2 separate regions of the Homo sapiens genome follow, and region 2 is linked to region 1. Evidence: promoter capture Hi-C in human tissues and cell types (Jung and others, 2019). All regions are on one chromosome and are shown on one strand. The core of a region is centred on a gene start or on the middle of the fragment in contact, and the rest is flanking DNA. Distances in the headings are between cores, read along the strand shown.

Region 1 (4,053 bases), core at 392-2,891:
CGCGCGTGTGTGTGTGTGTGTGTGTACCTGCACACATACAGACAGGACAAGACTCACTTTAGCAGAAGGAAACCTGCCTTGGAAGTCAGCCATCTCCACTTGCCTGTCTATGGCCTCAGCTCTCTAGGGACTCCAGTTCAACATTACTGGAAGCCAACAACCTCTCCTTCCATCAGATGCCCAGTGGGTGAGTCAGGGGGTGGGGTGGTGGGGGGGGGCGCTGGTAATGCAATAAGACAACAGCCTTTACACGGAACCAAACTCTGAGCCACTGTTATTGGAGGAAGACCTTCAGAATCTCAGAGTGTGGCTGTGACATCTCTCCTGCTTCTCTGCTCCATCAGTCACTTGTCACTCCATCTTTCCCTTTCCTCACCCTTAAAATGAAGTAAGAATGACAGCTACCATATGAAGACCACTTTCTATACACCAGGCGCCTTACATTCATGCCATTCTCACAACAGCCATGTGAGAAATTTTTATCAACCCAGTGATAAGGGTGAGAAGGTGGAGGGAAAATGGCTGGTCCAAGGTCACACAGCCAGGAAGTGATGGAGCTGGTACTGGAATGCAGTCTGTGTGACACAGGCTGCTCCAAGGAGGATCTGGGAACTCTCAGGACCATGCTACAAGGTGGGGTCCATACACTCCAATGCGGGGAGGGCTCCCAGAGCAAAGGCCTCCATGTGGGGGTGCATTTATTAACAGTAGAAACTCGAATTAGGGGAACGCCCCCAGCAGGGTGGGCCCGTAGTGCCCAGGGGTACCAGGCAGAAGCCTATGTAAACACTCCTGAGACCTACAGCCAAACCCCTGCTGCTGTTGGCTGGGCAGGCCAGGCCGGGCTAAAAATAGAAGGCTTCTCAGGTCCAGCTCCCTGTGCCCCAGCCTCCTCCTCTCCCCCTCCCTCCTTCCCCACAGGGCAGGAGCCAGGCTTCTAGAACGAACCGAGACTTTAAGACTTTCGTTTCAGATCAAAGAGGATCGTTAGCTTGATACTCAATGGGCATGTTCCAAGTTCTACAGGGGCCGTAACTGGGGGGAGCTCCTGACTCCAACACCCCACCCAACTCCCTCCTAGGGAGAGAGAGCTGTCAACCTCCAAAACCAACCCAGGGAAGGAGTGAGGTCGAGGCCAAAACTTGGACAATCTCTGCACATCTTGCAATTCAATCTGGAGCCCCTTTGCTGTCTTTCCTTTTCCTGAATCTACTCTCAATGTTGACAGCACTGTGCGATTTCTGTATTTGCCAGGGGCTTCTCGTGGGAGGTCGGCTCCAGCCCTCTCGAGAACCCTCCGGAGACCGTGGGGATGAGGCAGCGCTCAGCCAGAGAAGCCCTGGAGCCCAGGACCAGCGCTTCAAGTGCACCGGGCGGGAGGCAGGGGCGCAGGGAGGGAGGCTCTGGACCGGCCGCCCCTGCTGACTATGGCCCCGGTGCAGGTCAAGGCTTGGGCCCGGGGATTTCCTTTCAAAGGTGACTTAGAGCCGCTTCATTAGGGTAGCGCCCTCCCAGGCGGGCCCTAATGGCGTGTTTGGCAGAGTCAGCGAAAAGCAGCGCCCTGCGGCTCCAGCGGCGGGGGAGCGCCCTCTTCCGCGCCCTCGCCCTCTCCCGTGTGGGGCAGCTGCGCGCACGGGGCCATTTGCAGCGCAAGCAGCCTAGCGTGCGGCCGCGGCGCCCAGGTCGGAAAGGAGGCGGCATCATGGAGCTGAAGAAGGACATCAACGCTGTATCTATCGACATGCTGCTGATCGTGCACTCGGAGAAGCGGCGCGCCGCACAGGGTACGCTCTCAGACCAGCAGGCGAACCCGAGCTCGCTGCTGCAGCGCGGAGGAGGTAACGCGCGCCCGACCCGGGTCCCCGGGTCCCCCGGCACCTTGGCCTCCTTGCCACAAGGGCCTGCCCGCCGGGGGGCGCCCATTGCTCCCCCGAACGAGGTCAGCGAACCCGACCCTCTCCCCCATGGCTGCCGTCGCTTCCCCGCAGTGGCACCGGCGTCCCGTGGCAACGCGCAGTCCCGTGGCAACGCGCAGCCCCGTGATTGCCCCAGTTTCACTCCCTGTGCAGGCCTGTGGGTGCTTCCGTCACCCCTGGGAGTCTTTTTCCTCCCAGCCACTCCCTAACGGGTGTAGAGCAAGATTGGAAGATACCCTGGAGGAAGGCGGCCAGAGCCTCAGGGCTGACTCATGGGTAGCAGAGGCCTGCTCCCCCCCACAGCACACTGCAGGGCACAGGGGACGCTGGGAAACCTTTGGGCTGAGTCAGACTTTTAGATGGGGAGCTCCCTGTGTGGCCTTGCACAATTTACAGCCTCAGTTTCTCCTTTCTTGAGACTTTCTCCCAGCCTCCTATAGATGGAAGGCATGAAAGGCGTAAAAGGAACGCAGGTTTGGATAGGGTAAGATTTGAAACCTGCTGTCTCCACTTGAACTTATCCATCAATTTTACTTGTCCTACACACTTTCTGGGTAAATTTGTAAGTTGTAGATTGGTAAAATAAAGTGACTGTTTATAGAGTGATTGTGGAAAGCAGGATCCGGGCCTCTCTGTTCTCCAGACGACAGAACACAATGTGAATGGAGTACAGAGGGATGATAATGGAGGTTAAATAAGCCCCTGAAAAGCCAGAGAACCTCAGGGTCCTGGATGGCAAGCTGTCTCCGAGGCTGGTGTGAGGATGCACTAGGCGGACTGCGGGCCAGTTCTTTAGGAGTTAGGCCTGACAGCCCATGCAGGAGAATGACTTCTGCCTCTCTCCTCCCCTCCAGCTCTGGAGCTCCTTGGAATTCCTGCTGCTGCTCTGCCCTTGGTTCTTCTGTCCCCAGAGCCTCTGTGCTCATTGAACATCCACCTTCCACCTGCCTTGCTTAAGTAATGCTGCTGTGGATGGCCTTGCCACTACCAGCCACATAGGCTGGAGCTGCCTCCAGAGCCCTGGGAACCTCTTGGGAAGGCAGGCAGGGGAAAGAAACAGAATCTAGAGGGCTGAGTATGTTGACAGGCGCTCTAGTCTCAGGGCTGATTCCTGACTGAAGCAGGAGTTGTTTGGATTCGTTGGCTCTTTAGTTATCAGACCTACTCTTGGGAGAAGGGGAAATGGCCTGCCCAGGGTATTTGTAGTTAGAAAGTCAACAGAGGGCATCAACTTCTTGATAGAAATGAGACTGCTCTGAATACATGTACCACAGTCCAGAATGCCTTCTCCAGTGTGTGGCGAGGCCTAGTTCCAGGTCAGCCCACGAGTCCCCTACTCCCAATCCTCTCTGATCACATCACTTCTAAAGGCTCTGACACTAGAAAGGGCAAAGAATGCAGAGAAGCCCAGGAAACACCAGGCATCAGGACTGCCCTGAGAGGTGCCCAACACCTAGCACAAACTCGCCATGGCTCCAGACTCATGTATGCACACTAGTGACTATGACAGAGAAAAAAAGACCCCTAATGGCTGGGCCCTTTCTGCTGAACTTTTTCTCCAAATATTTTTCTGATGGCCGTTTCTCACCGATGCTATGAATGACAGTGTAGAGATCTGTGTCACTTATTCACAACCAGAGCAGAGAAGAGGAAAAGTGCATGGCTTTTGATGCCTGGTGGGCAGAGATGATATTCAGGAGACCCCAGGCAAAGCCAGCCTGCAGACCCTTTCCTCGAAAAACAGCCTAAGGGAGGAAAATGCCCAATAAGACCAGCTTGTTCCAAAGCCTCCCATGGGTGCAAGATATAAAACAAACTCTTGCTCACTTCCAGGTATCTCCTCCTTTCTCCTCCACACTCCAGATCCTCCACTGGAGAGTGGATCTTCCTTGGTTATATAAAAGAGGGCCTAGGCTCCATGTCAGAAAAGATCAAAGCTCAATTATTGTTGCAATGCAGAGGATGGAGTAATCCGTAACGAGTGGCCCTTCTGCTGGAAGGGCCTTCTGCTGGAAGTGGCCCTTCTGCTGGAAGAAAAGAGTCAGGGGGACAAGAAGGCAAGGAGAGTGTGGACAGGCTAGGTCACTAGGAATTTGGGCTGCAGAGCCAGCAGATGTTCTCTCCCATTTCTGTAAGG
Region 2 (4,135 bases), core at 654-3,153, 2.0 Mb before region 1:
CCTGAAGTGATCCACCAGCCTCAGCCTCACAAAGTATTGGGATTACAGGCGTGAGCCACCACGCCAGGCCTAAAGATGTGTTTAACATTGCAAATCGCCACCTCTACCCAATATGACTTAACTGTTTTCCCCTTGCGCTAACGTAACATACATTTTACTTACTTGCTTATTGTCTCTCTCCTACAACTGGAATGTAAGTTGTGTGAAGGCAGGAATTTTTATCTAGTGTGTCTTCTGCTATTTACTAGTGTCTGACCTGCAGTAAGTGTTCAGTAAATGTTTAATGAGTGAATGGTGTTTTAATTTTGTTAAATAAGCACTGCCCCACCCCCTGCCCTTTGGTGTTTAAAAAATTTTTCATTTTGAAATAATTTCCAACACAGAAGGATTCTAAGAATTCTATGAAGAATTGTCAGCTGTCCTTCATGCACATTGTCCTAATGTTAGCATTTTACTACATTTGCTTTATCATATTCCCACTCTTTGCTTCTGTCTTCTCCTCTATGTATGTACACACATATACACATGTAAATATGGATTTTTTATGACATATGCAGAGATAAGTATTTTGGTATCTATTAGTTTTGAACTGTTTTGGAGTAAGTTGCAGACATGATGTTACTTTTTTTTTAAATTCAGTATTGTTTTGTAGAATATCTCTTCGCAGCACTTTATTTCTAATAGTTTAGTGTGTATTTCTTTGCAGTCAAGGACATTTTTTCTTACATAACCACAGTACAGTTATGAAAATATGAAAATAATATTGATATAAGAATGATATCTATACATCTCATTTAGATTTTGCCAGTTGTCATAATCTAATCCCTTAAAGAAAAGAAAAACTATTCTTTTCCTGAATCAGGGTCTAGTCCAGGATTTTATGTTGCTTGTAGTTGTCATGTAAATCAGCACCTCTCTAACCTTAACCCCTCTTTAGTCTCTCGTGTTTTATTATGGATTTTTTTCTCTTAGTGAGAACCAGCACTTCTATATTCTCAACATTATTTAACTTTCATATTTGCATAGGCTGAGTAGGAGAGGTAAATAATGTTGTATATAAAGTTTCAGTGCTGCAAAAGAAATAGCACTTGAATATAAAATGTTCTTTTAATTCTCAGCAAGGCAAGGTACTTCTATAGAAGGGTGCGCCCTTACAGATGGAACAATGGTGAGTGCACACTTGGACAAGGGAGGGGAAGGGGTTCTTATCCCTGACGCATGTGGCGCCTGCTGCTGTGTCATTCCCTTATTGGCTAGGGTTAGACCACCCAGGCTAAACTAATTCCGATTGGCTAATTTAAAGAGAGTGACGGGGTGAGTGGTTTGGTGGGAAAAATGGTTATGACAGAGCAGGTGATCGGAATGAGTCAGGGTGGAGCAGGTGATTGGAATGAGTCAGGGTGGAGCAGGTAATTGGAAAAGGTTGCTTTATGAGGAAGTTAAGTTTAAAAGTAGAAGGCAAAGAATTGAACATACTTTTCTTTGAAAAGAAATTTAGAACTCATATCTAACAATAAAAAGATACAGTTTTTATTTTTAAATGTCTATTCATACATAGAAGATGGAGAATGCACAACAAAAGATTAATGAGTACCAGAAGGGTAAGTTAACAGGTCACTTATAAAAATTGGATCTTTAAAATTATTTGGTAGTTTAATGTAGACTGTTGGGAATTTCATAATATTCAAATTCCAAAGTTTTTTTTTCTTTTAAATACCAAAATTTTTATTTGCCCACCCTCTTGGTTTAGCATTATAAATCAAATCAATCTCTTTTTGACCCAGCGTTGTGATAGGAACCACCATGTTACAATGTGGTGGCAGATGTCTGCTAGATTTTTTCTGGCTCCTCTCAACCTCTGACTGTCACTTCTTTTGTCCTTTCTTGGTTGTCCTTTAACAATCTGTTATAACTCCTGTAAAATAGAGAGTAAAAGTACCAACCCTGTTGTTACCAGGTTTTATGAGGACTAAGCTAGGACTAAGTCAATCTTTCAGGAACATTCAGACTCCAGTGGTTCCTCCTTGATCTTCAGTATAGCTCCTTATCTGTAATGGGCTGAAGAACCATTGAACTGATAAACCAGGCACATGGGTATAAGTCCATAGGCCAGGTGAAGGCCTGGATATAAAATATATGGACTTTGTGATGACCACTACCAACATCCAGCCTAAAGAAGGACTGACTTAGCATTTCCAACACCAATGATCTCATGGTTCCCTGTAGATGTCTCCCTTGTACCTCCATTAAGACCAGAGCTTGAGGAAGGGCCTCTCAATTTCCCCTGCTACACTTGGAATAGTATGAGGGACTCAGCAGAGGCTGGAAACTGAATGACCAGGCCCAGGGAGTTAATGTGGGACACTGACAAACCAATTGCAGAGTTGGTGCCATGTTGAGCATTTATGTTAAAAATTCTTAACTATTCTAAACCATGCTGACATGAACTGTTTTGCAAGTAAGTTTTGCTGTATAGCCATTGTTTTTTTTAATCCTAAATTTCTAGAAGTGAAGTTTGTTAGTATATGCTGTTTGTTTTGAAAGCTTTTGACATATATTATTGCCTTTCACACAGCAAAATATATGGGTATATGCTATGTTACTGCTTATAATGGTTAAGTCTTTTCTAATTTTTAAGTGGTGAAGTTTAAATCAGTACTTTCTATATTGTTCATTATTTGTGAATAAAGGTGGTATGATCACAGCTCACCACAGATTCGATTTCCCAGGTTCAAGTGATTCTCCCACCTCAGCCTTTGGAGTGGGACTACAGTCATGCATCACCACACCGGCTAAGTTTTTGTAGAGGCAAGGTTTCGTCATGTTGCCCAGGCTGGTCTCAAACTCCTCGGCTCAAGCAGTCTGCCCAGTAGGACTCCTAAAGTGCTGGATTACAGGCATGAGGCACTGGGCCCAGCCTATTTATAATTTTCTGTACTACTTTTTCTATTTTTATTTTTCTAAGAAACAAAGATCTCTATAAAAAATTTTTTTGGAGCTTAAATGTGCACTCTTTTGTGATCACTTTAGGAAGTATATTAGTTGGACTTCTTTTTAAGCTGTCTTTGTTGTTTTCTTAATTTTTCATTTAGAATTTTCTTCTACTGACTAGACTAGTTTTTAGTTCTGACTTCCTTAATTATGTTAAAGACTACCACAGTTCCAAGAACACAGAATTAAGACCTGAGTCATTGTTACATTTCCTCATCTCCAAGTCTCTTGTCCTGTCTCCTTTATCTATTGAAATTTGAGGTCTGATGACTTTTTTTTTTTTTTTGAGACGGAGTCTTGCTCTGTCGCCCAGGCTGGAGTGCAGTGGCGCGATCTCGGCTCACTGCAAGTTCCGCCTCCCAGGTTCATGCCATTCTCCTGCCTCAGCCTCCCGAGTAGCTGGGACGACAGGTGCCCACCACCATGCCTGGCTACTTTTTTTGTATTTTTAGTAGAGACGGGGTTTCACCGTGTTAACCAGGATGGTCTTGATCTCCTGACCTCGTGATCCACCCGCCTTGGCCTCCCAAAGTGCTGGGATTACAGGTGCGAGCCACTGCGCCCAGCGTCTGATGACTTTTACTTTATAAGCTCACTGTGTCTTCCACATCTGTCCTTTATTTTACATTTCCCAAGTTTGTATCTTTAGGGCTTACTTTATTGGCAGCTGTACTGTTAGCTTCCTACCTTTGGTCTTTGTCTTTTTCTATTTCATCCTTTTTAATAGTGCCGGGTGGGAATATGTTTTTTCTTTTTTTTCATTTTCTTTTTTTTTTTGATTTGGAGTCTTGCTCTATTGCCCAGGCTGGAGTGCAGTGGCACGACCTTGGCTCACTGCAAGCTCCGCCTCCCAGGTTCACACCATTCCCCTGCCTCAGCCTCCCAAGTAGCTGGGACTACAGGTGCCCACCATCACGCCCGGATAATTTTTTGTATTTTTAGTAGAGATGGGGTTTCACCGTGTTAGCCAGGATGGTCTCAATCTCCTGACCTCGTGATCTGCCTGCCTCGGCCTCCCAAAGTGCTGGGATTACAGGCGTGAGCCACCGACCGGCCACGAATATGTTTTTTCTTATTCAAAAAGCAGGCAGTGCCCCCACTCCTTTTTTTTTTTTTTTTTTTTTTTTTTTGGACAAAGTCTTGT

What was found. The method cuts DNA at HindIII sites, captures the fragments that hold promoters and counts their contacts. A contact is called where the count stands out against the background at its distance.
Region 2: a contact is called between a fragment that was not itself captured here and the fragment with the promoter of KY in region 1, in 1 of the 25 tissues and cell types used here (dorsolateral prefrontal cortex).

The regions. Positions count from the first base shown.
Region 1 is chr3:134,648,610-134,652,662 of GRCh38, reverse strand. It overlaps KY (kyphoscoliosis peptidase), which reads left to right and starts at 1,641. Exons shown (of 11, transcript NM_178554.6): 1 at 1,641-1,838. The coding sequence starts at 1,703. It also overlaps a transcript of CEP63 not described here. The HindIII fragment of the contact is 13,352 bases long and covers 1-4,053 here.
Region 2 is chr3:136,615,411-136,619,545 of GRCh38, reverse strand. The region is part of intron 3 of STAG1 (STAG1 cohesin complex component); the gene reads left to right. Among named protein-coding and RNA genes, the nearest start is that of STAG1, 130 kb to the left of the region's middle. The HindIII fragment of the contact is 6,695 bases long and covers 1-4,135 here.